Regions from separate parts of the Homo sapiens genome. Here regions 1 and 2 are each linked to region 3. Evidence: promoter capture Hi-C in 16 types of primary human blood cells and fetal thymus (Javierre and others, 2016). All regions are on one chromosome and are shown on one strand. The core of a region is centred on a gene start or on the middle of the fragment in contact, and the rest is flanking DNA. Distances in the headings are between cores, read along the strand shown.

What was found. Contacts are between HindIII fragments. The CHiCAGO score rates a contact against its expected background, and 5 or more counts as called.
Region 1: a contact is called between the fragment with the promoter of PCDHB11 here and the fragment with the promoter of PCDHGA1 in region 3, in 2 of 17 cell types (endothelial precursors and M1 macrophages). The highest score is 5.5, in endothelial precursors.
Region 2: a contact is called between the fragment with the promoter of PCDHGC4 here and the fragment with the promoter of PCDHGA1 in region 3, in 8 of 17 cell types (naive CD4 T cells, naive CD8 T cells, total B cells and 5 more). The highest score is 7.0, in naive CD4 T cells.

Annotation. Positions count from the first base shown.
Region 1 is chr5:141,198,035-141,201,895 of GRCh38, forward strand. PCDHB11 (protocadherin beta 11) reads left to right here and starts at 1,593. Exons shown (of 1, transcript NM_018931.3): 1 at 1,593-3,861. The coding sequence starts at 1,741. It also overlaps PCDHB@. The HindIII fragment of the contact is 6,869 bases long and covers 1-3,861 here.
Region 2 is chr5:141,482,620-141,486,476 of GRCh38, forward strand. It overlaps PCDHGC4 (protocadherin gamma subfamily C, 4), which reads left to right and starts at 2,411. Exons shown (of 4, transcript NM_018928.3): 1 at 2,411-3,857. The coding sequence starts at 2,555. The region is part of intron 1 of PCDHGA1 (protocadherin gamma subfamily A, 1); the gene reads left to right. The region is part of intron 1 of PCDHGA2 (protocadherin gamma subfamily A, 2); the gene reads left to right. All of the region lies in intron 1 of PCDHGA3 (protocadherin gamma subfamily A, 3), which reads left to right. It also overlaps PCDHGB1, PCDHGA4, PCDHGB2, PCDHGA5, PCDHGB3 and PCDHGA6, and 12 more genes. RefSeq lists a silencer at 2,282-2,509. The HindIII fragment of the contact is 2,008 bases long and covers 1,448-3,455 here.
Region 3 is chr5:141,329,080-141,332,683 of GRCh38, forward strand. PCDHGA1 (protocadherin gamma subfamily A, 1) reads left to right here and starts at 1,435. Exons shown (of 4, transcript NM_018912.3): 1 at 1,435-3,604. The coding sequence starts at 1,606. It also overlaps PCDHG@. The HindIII fragment of the contact is 2,043 bases long and covers 1-1,948 here.

The sequences.
Region 1 (3,861 bases), core at 343-2,842, 130 kb before region 3:
CTATCCTACATACATACTTTCAACTAATAACTTCTTTTTTAAGCCCTTACTTGACTTCAGCCTTCTTATACACCTGGTTCCTCCAAGTCTGGTACCTACTAGGATTGTGTAGGGAAAACCCAGTAGTTTATTTTTAGTATCTCCAATGAAGGAACTTTATTTTAGACATTTCTTGGAACTATTGTCAATTGCTCTTTCATCTGCTTTCTATCATCAAATAATTTGTGTATTTACTTATGTATTCTTAGTCTTTGTGAATTCATACCTTTTATTACTTTTCTGTCATTTTAGAGAGGGGTTAAGAAGAAGGAAGGATAATTGTATAGTCAATCCACATACTATTCAATTTCTACTCTTCTGCACTGATAATTTTTCAACCATGTATCTAGTTCACATTTTTGTGAATGTAATTTGAAATTAGAATTTTTAAAAGCAGACTTCTTAGATGTCCTCCATTATTGAGAGTACTTTGAGATGTCTAACAGTGGATACCATTGGTAGTTTCCAAGCACCTATTCCAACTATCTCCCTCATTATGCCATGCACTTTGGCTAGGACTGAAACCACCTCAAGTTTAAGGGGCAATCTCTGCCTGGATTAAAACAAAGGGTCAAAGATGGAGTCTTTAGATTCTGGGACTATAATCTCTACCTTTAATCCTATACATCTTGAGACACTGATTTCTTCAGTAACAGGCTGAAGTGCTCTCAGTTGGTCTAATCAGAATGAAGGCTAAGATTTTGTTCTATTATTGAGGAAGAAAATATCTCTCATTCTGTCTTCTTGAGCTGAAAAACAAAGCAGATAGCCATAGATGTTGCTGGAATAAATCTTGGGAAACTGAGGGAGGGCAGTCTTAGAAATAAGCCTGCTTTAAATGAAACTAACATGCTTGTGCTTGTGTATTTATTATTTTTTGAGAAGCTGGAACTAAATCAAGGATTCTCATAATGTGTTCTACTCCCAATATCTTACTTTACTTTCTAGCAGTTCACAATTCCTTGCTACCAAGGAAATCTATATAAATGCCTTCTTGTGCTATCATAACTATCAAAGTATGTCCCATCTCATGGTTAATCCAGTTTCATATCCTCTGAGAGGACTTCTAAAATGACCCATGTATAGTTTGCCTTTTCATTACCACCTAAGGAAAGTCAAGTAGTGATAGAATTTTGTACAGCTTAAAAATATTATGGTTGTTTTATGTTTCCAGTCTTCTCAGAAAGATTACAAACCACTGGGAGCCAGGAATCACATCTTGTATTTCTGTATTCACCACAACTAAGCACGTTTGGTTGTATGGAGAAGGGGGAAAGATAAATGCTTTAAGATGAATATTAACAGCATATCAAACTAAAGAGAATATGAAATAATTATTACAGAACGTGCAATATATTTGTAATCACTTGAACACAATGAATAAAACAATATTTGTTTCCGGAGGACATATAAGTGAATGGAATTTAGGTAGCTTTCACCAAACTGTGAAAATCTATGGAGACACTTGGTGGCGCTGCAGGATAACATCGTGAAAAATATATTCACTGGATGGCGTTGTGAACACTGATATCCAGTGCACACAGAGAATCAGAAGACAGAAACAACAAGCCTTCAAGAGGGTGACCTGGAAACCATTCAACAGGGTTAAAATCCTTAGACCACAGAGGATTTGGTGGACAAGTCAGAGACGCGTTCCGCAGAGCTGAAGCCTTTCTTCAAGAAGCCTACAAGAAAGGAACTATGGAGAACCAAGGGACACGCACTCAGCAGATAAGGCAAGTCCTGCTTCTCTTTGTTTTGCTCGGAATGTCTCAGGCGGGCTCTGAAACCTGGAGCTTTTCTGTGGCAGAAGAAATGCAGAGCGGGAGTTTTGTAGGCAATCTGGCAAAGGACCTGGGGCTGAAGGTGAGAGAACTGTCCTCACGGGGGGCTCGGGTGGTCTCTAATGATAAGAAACAGCGTTTGCAGCTGGACATAAACACTGGGGATTTGCTCTTAAGTGAAACACTAGACAGGGAGGAGCTCTGCGGTTCCATCGAGCCTTGCGTGCTACATTTGCAGGTGTTAATGCAAAACCCCACGCAGTTTTTACAAATTGAGCTTCAGGTCAGGGATATAAATGATCACTCTCCCATCTTCTCGGAAAAACAAATGCTCCTAGAAATCCCAGAGAACAGTCCCGTTGGTGCTGTGTTCTTACTAGAAAGTGCGAAGGATTTAGATGTAGGAATCAATGCTGTAAAAAGCTACACAATAAGCCCCAACTCTCATTTTCACATTAAAATGAGAGTCATTCCAGACAATAGGAAATACCCCGAGTTAGTTCTGGACAAGGCGCTGGATTATGAAGAGCTCCCGGAGCTCAGTTTCATCCTCTCTGCTCTGGATGGTGGGTCCCCTCCCAGGTCTGGAACTGCCTTGGTCAGGGTGGTGGTTGTGGACATTAATGACAACTCCCCTGAATTTGAGCAGGCTTTTTATGAGGTGAAGATTCGGGAGAATAGCATCCTTGGCTCGCTGATTTTGATTGTCTCAGCTTGGGATTTAGACTCTGGAACAAATGGTGAAATATGCTATACCTTTTCCCATGCCTCAGAAGATATTCGCAAGACATTTGAAATTAATCAAAAGTCTGGAGAAATTACTTTAAGAGCACCTCTGGATTTTGAAACGATTGAGTCATACTCAATAATCATTCAAGCCACAGATGGGGGAGGACTTTTTGGAAAATCTACAGTCATAATTCACGTGATAGATGTAAATGACAATGCTCCTGAAATCACTGTGTCATCAATTACCAGTCCAATCCCAGAAAATACGCCAGAGACCGTGGTTATGGTTTTTAGTATCCAAGATATAGACTCTGGGGACAACGGAAGAATTGTTTGTTCCATTCCGGAAGACCTCCCATTCGTGCTAAAATCTTCAGTTGAGAATTACTACACGTTGGAAACAGAGAGACCACTGGACAGAGAGAGCACAGCCGAGTACAATATCACCATCACCGTCACCGACTTGGGGATACCCAGGCTGAAAACCGAGCACAACACAACTGTGTTGGTCTCTGACGTCAATGACAACGCCCCCACCTTCACCCAAACCTCCTACACCCTGTTCGTCCGCGAGAACAACAGCCCCGCCCTGCACATCGGCAGTGTCAGCGCTACAGACAGAGACTCAGGCACCAACGCCCAGGTCAACTACTCGCTACTCCCGCCCCAGGACCTGCACCTGCCCCTCGCCTCCCTGGTCTCCATCAACACAGACAACGGCCACCTGTTCGCCCTCAGGTCGCTGGACTACGAGGCCCTGCAGGCTTTCGACTTCCGCGTGGGCGCCACAGACCGCGGCTCCCCGGCTTTGAGCAGCGAGGCGCTGGTGCGCGTGCTGGTGCTGGACGCCAACGACAACTCGCCCTTCGTGCTGTACCCGCTGCAGAACGGCTCCGCGCCCTGCACCGAGCTGGTGCCCCGGGCGGCCGAGCCGGGCTACCTGGTGACCAAGGTGGTGGCGGTGGACGGCGACTCGGGCCAGAACGCCTGGCTGTCGTACCAGCTGCTCAAGGCCACGGAGCCCGGGCTATTCGGCGTGTGGGCGCACAATGGCGAGGTGCGCACCGCCAGGCTGCTGAGCGAGCGCGACGCGGCCAAGCACAGGCTGGTGGTGCTGGTCAAGGACAATGGCGAGCCTCCGCGCTCGGCCACCGCCACGCTGCAAGTGCTCCTGGTGGACGGCTTCTCCCAGCCCTACCTGCCGCTCCCTGAGGCGGCACCGGCCCAGGCCCAGGCCGACTCGCTCACCGTCTACTTGGTGGTGGCGTTGGCCTCGGTGTCTTCGCTCTTCCTCTTCTCGGTGCTCCTG
Region 2 (3,857 bases), core at 1,161-3,660, 150 kb after region 3:
GAAAGGAAGAAATGATAGAGGTGGTGATGCTTGAGCTATGATCTAAAGGTTGAGTAGTAGCTTGTCAGACAGTAAAGGGGAAAGGACAGGGCAGGGAGGGGCCATTGCAAGAAATTCCATGCAGAGGGATTATGGTATTTCATTATCACTGAACCTTAAACTGTGTGTGTGGCCGGGTACGGTGGCTCATGCCTGTAATCCTAGCACTTTGGGAGGCCAAGGTGGGCAGATCACTTGAGGTCAGGAGTTTGAAACCAGCCTGGCCAACATGGTGAAACCTCATCTCTATTAAAAATACAAAAAATTAGCCAGGTGTGGTTGTGGGTGCCTGTAATTCCAGCTACTTGAGCAGCTACTTGAGAGGTCGAGGCAGGAGAATTGCTTGAACCCGGGAGGCAGAGGTTGCAATGAGCTGGTGTCAGGCCACTGCACTCCAGCATGGGCAACAGAGAGAGACTCCATCTCAAAAAAAAAGTGTGCGTGTAAAACAGACAGTCTTTGTAGGAGATGAGGTGAAGCAAGTAGGCAGGAGTTAGATCCTGAGTTACCTTTGGGCCAAGCCAAGGAGTTTTTATTTTATTCCATATAGATGACAGTCACTGCAGAAATTTGAACTGATATGCATATATCATGAGGTTTTTTTGTTTTAGAAATATTATTCTGTCAGTCATAAGTGAAGGGACTGGGGACATTGGGACTGGAGGCAAAGAGATCTTATCTCTTTGCAATAGTTTGAAAGCTATTGCAATATTTGAAGAGAAGATTGATAAATGCTTGAACCAGCACAGTGGCAGTACAGATGGAGGGAGCTGACTACAATAAAATCATCAGGACTTGTTGATTGACATGATATAGGAAGTGAGGGACAGGGATGAGTCAAGGCTGATCCCCCTAGATCCTGACTAAGGAAGCTGGGTGGTTGACAGTGCCATTCACAGAGACAGTGAATTCTGGCATAAACACCTAATAGGTCAGGCTGGTTTACACCTCCATCATTCCCATGGGAGAAGGTATAGAGGGGTGTGTGTTTGTGTGTGTGTGTGTGTGTGTAAAAGAACACAGAAAGCCAGATTCCTCTTTTTGACACCAGAATATTGGTTCCCACCATAGTCAAAAGGATATTCCTGAGGATCGAGGCTTGGAAAAATATTGGGGAAGGATAAGAACTCCAGTTGTTGCTGCTTTTTTTGGCAGCCAGTGTAACCTAGGTAAGGACTTGGTTGAATTAAGAAATTTCATGTCCAGATCAGGATGGATTTTTCTATTTCTCTGAGCTCTGGTGTGTTTCCCACTCAGATTGCAGGTCGTAGGTACCTACGGTGTGAATTGTGTTGTGTTTCTGTGCTTGTGCAAGGGAGTAGCTAGGTTGCTGGGAGGTCTGGATGAGGGTGGGGGTGGGGTGAGATCAAGTCTCCAGCTCCAAGAGGTCCCCTGGGGCTAAGTGAAAAGCTTGCTCTTTTGAAATGGTCTTCGTTGGTAATTAACAAAAGATCAAGAATACCTTGGTGTCAGATAAAGGGAATTTGTAGGCACAATGCTGTTGGTAGCTGATCTCAATCATTCAAGGAAGCTATTAAATCTATGAACATTAGCATTCTGCCAGGTAAAGAGATCTGGTCCTTAGCACCTCCCAGACACACTGATTCTTTACTGTTTTGAAACATCTCCCTCTCCTGGCTTCCTCCACCCCGCTTCCATACTGTCCTTGAAATCAATGAATGGTAATTTAGTGTATCTAGTGTATCACTAGCAAATGTCTGAATAAGAAAGGTTTGGTTTCCGCTGTGTCTCCTGTTACAATGAGAACATGTACTGCATAAATTTAATTGGCTACGTTAATGTGTAAGCCTTTTCTGCAAAGAGATGGATCCGTTTCTGAATATTCTGCAGAAGGGCAGAGTTTTGAGTATATGGCAGTGGTTCTAATTAGCAGTTGCTCCAATACAATCAGACTGAGACGGAAGCTACTCATTTAGAATACTGGTTGATGACAACACTGGCTTGAACAAAGTGACCACTCTCCAATGGCTACTCTCCCTCTCAGTGGGCCGCAGGTTGCTAGGGCTCAGGCTGTGGCTGTTTTCCCCGCCGAAAAGGGGCGGGGTCAGTCGGTGTGTTAGGAAAAAAAATGTATATATATATATATGTTGTCTGCCTCCCCACAGAGATAACAACCCGTGGAAAAACATGCCGTTGAGCGGGAGGAAGGCGAAAAGATAGGCTGGGTTTTTTGGGGGGTGGGGGAGCGTGGAGGATAGGGTGGGCTTTTTCCCCTCCAATGCTGCGACGCATTAACCCTGCTGCTGTTGGGACGTTCTCTGCTCAGCCTATTGGCTGAGCCCGGGAGCCGCTGTCTGCCAATCGGGTGGTGAAAGGCAGACAAATCTACCCCGCCACCAGCAAAAACGGCGCGTAACCCTTGCGGCGCCGGCCGAACCGCGCCAGAGCTGGCGCGGGGAAAGGGAGATAGGTGTCTCCAGCTGCTGTGGCTGTTTGGGGCGGGTCGGCTTCATCCGCGTCTCAGGAGCAAGTAGAGAATTAGCGGGCGGCAGCAATGCTCCGCAAGGTGAGAAGCTGGACAGAAATCTGGCGGTGGGCTACCCTTTTGTTCCTCTTTTACCACCTGGGTTACGTTTGTGGGCAGATCCGCTACCCGGTCCCAGAGGAGTCACAGGAAGGGACTTTTGTAGGGAATGTCGCTCAAGATTTCCTGCTGGATACGGACAGTCTGTCAGCTCGCAGGCTGCAGGTCGCTGGAGAGGTGAACCAAAGACACTTCCGTGTGGATTTGGACAGCGGAGCCCTGCTCATCAAGAACCCAATCGACCGAGAGGCACTGTGTGGGCTCAGTGCCAGCTGCATCGTGCCCCTGGAGTTTGTCACCGAAGGTCCTTTGGAAATGTACCGAGCAGAGGTAGAGATCGTAGATGTGAATGATCACGCCCCCCGTTTTCCGCGGCAGCAGCTGGACTTGGAAATTGGGGAGGCAGCTCCTCCAGGACAGCGTTTCCCGTTGGAAAAGGCTCAGGATGCAGATGTGGGGAGCAATTCGATTAGCAGCTATAGGCTGAGCTCCAATGAACACTTTGCACTGGATGTGAAGAAGCGCAGCGACGGCAGCCTGGTCCCAGAGCTGCTCCTGGAGAAGCCTTTGGATCGAGAGAAGCAATCGGACTACCGCCTGGTGCTGACTGCTGTCGATGGAGGGAACCCGCCGAGATCTGGCACCGCAGAGCTCCGGGTATCCGTGCTGGACGTAAACGACAACGCCCCAGCCTTCCAGCAATCCAGCTACAGGATTAGTGTGTTGGAGAGCGCACCAGCGGGCATGGTGCTCATCCAGCTCAATGCCTCAGACCCGGACCTGGGTCCCAGTGGTAACGTCACCTTTTATTTCAGTGGTCATACCCCTGATCGTGTAAGAAACCTCTTTAGCCTGCACCCCACTACTGGAAAGCTTACTCTTTTGGGGCCCCTAGACTTTGAGAGTGAGAATTACTATGAATTTGATGTGCGGGCTCGCGATGGGGGTTCTCCAGCCATGGAGCAACATTGCAGCCTTCGAGTGGATCTGCTGGACGTAAATGACAATGCCCCTTACATCACAGTGACCTCAGAGCTTGGAACCCTCCCCGAGAGTGCAGAACCTGGCACTGTGGTGGCACTTATCAGTGTGCAGGATCCAGACTCAGGGTCAAACGGAGATGTGAGCCTCCGCATTCCTGACCACTTGCCATTTGCCCTCAAGTCTGCCTTCAGGAACCAGTTCTCCCTGGTGACTGCTGGACCCTTGGATCGAGAGGCCAAATCTAGCTATGACATCATGGTCACTGCTTCTGATGCTGGGAACCCTCCTC
Region 3 (3,604 bases), core at 185-2,684:
TTTTTGGTTGCTGAAAGTAGGGAGCTCTACAGGTTTACTTACTAGTTCTTATGTATATTTTAATTTACCTCATTAGCTCACAATTTCTTTGGGGAAAAGTTTATGCCTATTAATGTGTATTCTGAAAAGTTACATTCTCTGTTAAAGAGTTACTTCCTTGCAATATTGAAGATGATTTATTGCACCTTTAAATTTCTACTCTTTGGCTCCATGTACTTGTCTTTGAGAAGCTGAGAAACTGTAGATTTGGTTAAGAACTAAAGTTCTCTTTCCAAAAACTATTATTGAGACCTTTCATTGTTTTCTTTCTTTCCTCATTTTTAACTTTTCTCAGTCATGGTGTCCATGGGTTGGCTGGCCGAATTTGTTCCTGAAATTATCAGACTCTGGAGTACAGATAGCATGCTTCTCTAACTTTGGGGTAAAGATAAGTAAGTCACTCTAAGCCTGAGACATTTTAATTAGTAACCCTTTGCTAATAGTGCAGTGATTAAAAAAAAAAGAAGGCCACATCCTCAACTGGTTAAAAAATACTGTTAAGAGAAAACCAACTTCTCTTGGAGAAAATATTAAGTGCGATTATAGAGGAATACATATTATAAGAGCCTATCTAAAAATAAAGATGAGACCATTTTTCTTTTCAGCTGTGAAGAATAATATCATAGACTTTGTCTCTGAAATTTGAAATCTAAATTATATATTCATGTGACTTTTCAATGAAATTCCAAGAGCCCAGTTTTATTTTTTTCAAAATATATTGCCTTTGGTGAATCTTAAGAATTTTTTAAAAACCCACATAATGCAAAGACACTTCAAAAAAAAAAAAGAGGAAAAATAAGGATAGGGTTAAACCATGCTCTTCAAAATCCCAAGGTTTCTGATAAATATTCAAATCATAATGGGAAGGAAATGGGATGGTATGATTTTTTTAAAGTCTAGCTTATATTCTAAAAGATTATTTTTCCCTCTAATACTTTTCACCCTCCAGTCAAAGGGGAGCTGCTCTATGTGGCCTGGGAAATTACCAAGTGGTCAAACTTTACTACAGAAAAAGTGGAGAGATGATTTTGTCCTCATTGTAATGTTAGGTTTTTACTATAATTCCCTGAATAGCAAACTTGGAAAGCAGATAACATGGGAATACTTGGATTCTCCTGTATATTTCAATTTGGTGACATTTAGGCACATTTAAAGAAGTGAACATATAGTTTCTCTTTTTCATACATATATTGTAGAATTATTTCCTTGACAATAGACTAAAACTTAAGAAAATAACAAGTTAATGAGAAGGTTTTCAGTATTTGCTAGGAATGCAGTAACTGGTTAGGACTGTGGGCGCCGCTGTTCACTAATCTGGTAGATACAGGCAGTACACACAGGTCAGGAGGAGGAAAAAAAAAAAAAAGAAAAAGAAAAAAGCTCTCGTGCCTCTTAGAACCTCCATAACCGCCAGATTGAAAACTGACTGTCCAAGACTGCCTAAATCCTACTTCTGGATGACTCTCCAGTCAGAATTCTCCTGAAAATTGGGTTAATTTCAGCTCAGAAAAGCAGAAACGATACCCTTGGTACTGGACTGGAAGAAAACTACGAAGTGAGAGAGCCATGAAGATTCAGAAAAAGCTGACTGGCTGCAGCAGGCTGATGCTTCTGTGTCTTTCTCTGGAGCTGCTGTTGGAAGCTGGGGCTGGGAATATTCACTACTCAGTGCCGGAAGAGACAGACAAAGGTTCCTTCGTAGGCAACATCGCCAAGGACCTAGGGCTGCAACCCCAGGAGCTGGCAGATGGCGGAGTCCGCATCGTCTCCAGAGGTAGGATGCCGCTTTTCGCTCTGAATCCTAGAAGTGGCAGCTTGATCACCGCGCGCAGGATAGACCGGGAGGAGCTCTGCGCTCAGAGCATGCCGTGTCTCGTGAGTTTTAATATCCTTGTTGAGGATAAAATGAAGCTTTTTCCTGTTGAAGTAGAAATAATTGATATTAATGACAACACTCCCCAATTCCAGTTAGAGGAACTGGAGTTTAAAATGAATGAAATAACGACTCCAGGTACCAGAGTCTCATTGCCTTTTGGGCAAGACCTTGATGTGGGTATGAACTCACTCCAGAGCTACCAACTCAGCTCTAACCCTCATTTCTCCCTGGATGTGCAACAGGGAGCCGATGGGCCTCAACATCCAGAGATGGTGCTGCAGAGTCCCTTAGACAGAGAAGAAGAAGCTGTCCACCACCTCATCCTCACAGCTTCTGATGGGGGTGAACCAGTCCGTTCAGGGACCCTCAGAATTTACATTCAGGTGGTGGATGCAAATGACAATCCTCCAGCATTTACTCAGGCACAATACCATATAAATGTCCCCGAAAACGTGCCGCTGGGTACTCAGCTGCTCATGGTAAATGCCACTGACCCTGATGAGGGAGCCAATGGGGAAGTAACGTACTCCTTTCACAATGTAGACCACAGAGTGGCCCAAATATTTCGTTTAGATTCTTACACAGGAGAAATATCAAATAAAGAACCACTAGATTTCGAAGAATACAAAATGTATTCAATGGAAGTTCAAGCCCAGGATGGTGCGGGGCTCATGGCTAAAGTTAAGGTACTGATCAAAGTTTTGGATGTAAATGATAATGCCCCAGAAGTGACCATCACCTCTGTCACCACTGCAGTTCCAGAAAACTTTCCTCCTGGGACCATAATTGCTCTTATCAGTGTGCATGACCAGGACTCAGGAGACAATGGCTACACCACATGTTTCATTCCTGGAAATTTACCCTTTAAATTGGAAAAGTTAGTTGATAATTATTACCGTTTAGTGACTGAAAGAACACTGGACAGAGAACTTATCTCTGGGTACAACATCACAATAACAGCAATAGACCAAGGAACTCCAGCTCTATCTACTGAAACTCACATTTCACTACTAGTGACAGATATCAATGACAACTCCCCAGTCTTCCATCAGGACTCCTACTCTGCCTACATTCCCGAAAACAACCCCAGAGGAGCCTCCATCTTCTCTGTGAGGGCCCACGACTTGGACAGCAATGAGAATGCACAAATCACTTACTCCCTAATAGAGGACACTATCCAGGGGGCACCCCTATCTGCCTACCTCTCCATCAACTCCGACACTGGGGTCCTGTATGCGCTGCGATCCTTCGACTATGAGCAGTTCCGGGACATGCAACTGAAAGTGATGGCGCGGGACAGTGGGGATCCGCCCCTCAGCAGCAACGTGTCTCTCAGCCTATTCCTGCTGGACCAGAACGACAACGCGCCCGAGATCCTGTACCCCGCCCTCCCCACAGATGGTTCTACCGGCGTGGAGCTGGCGCCCCTCTCCGCAGAGCCCGGCTACCTGGTGACCAAGGTGGTGGCGGTGGACAGAGACTCGGGCCAGAACGCCTGGCTGTCCTACCGCCTGCTCAAGGCCAGCGAGCCGGGACTCTTCTCGGTGGGTCTGCACACGGGCGAGGTGCGCACGGCGCGAGCCCTGCTGGACAGAGACGCGCTCAAGCAGAGTCTCGTGGTGGCCGTCCAGGACCACGGCCAGCCCCCGCTCTCCGCCACTGTCACGCTCACCGTGGCCGTGGCCGACA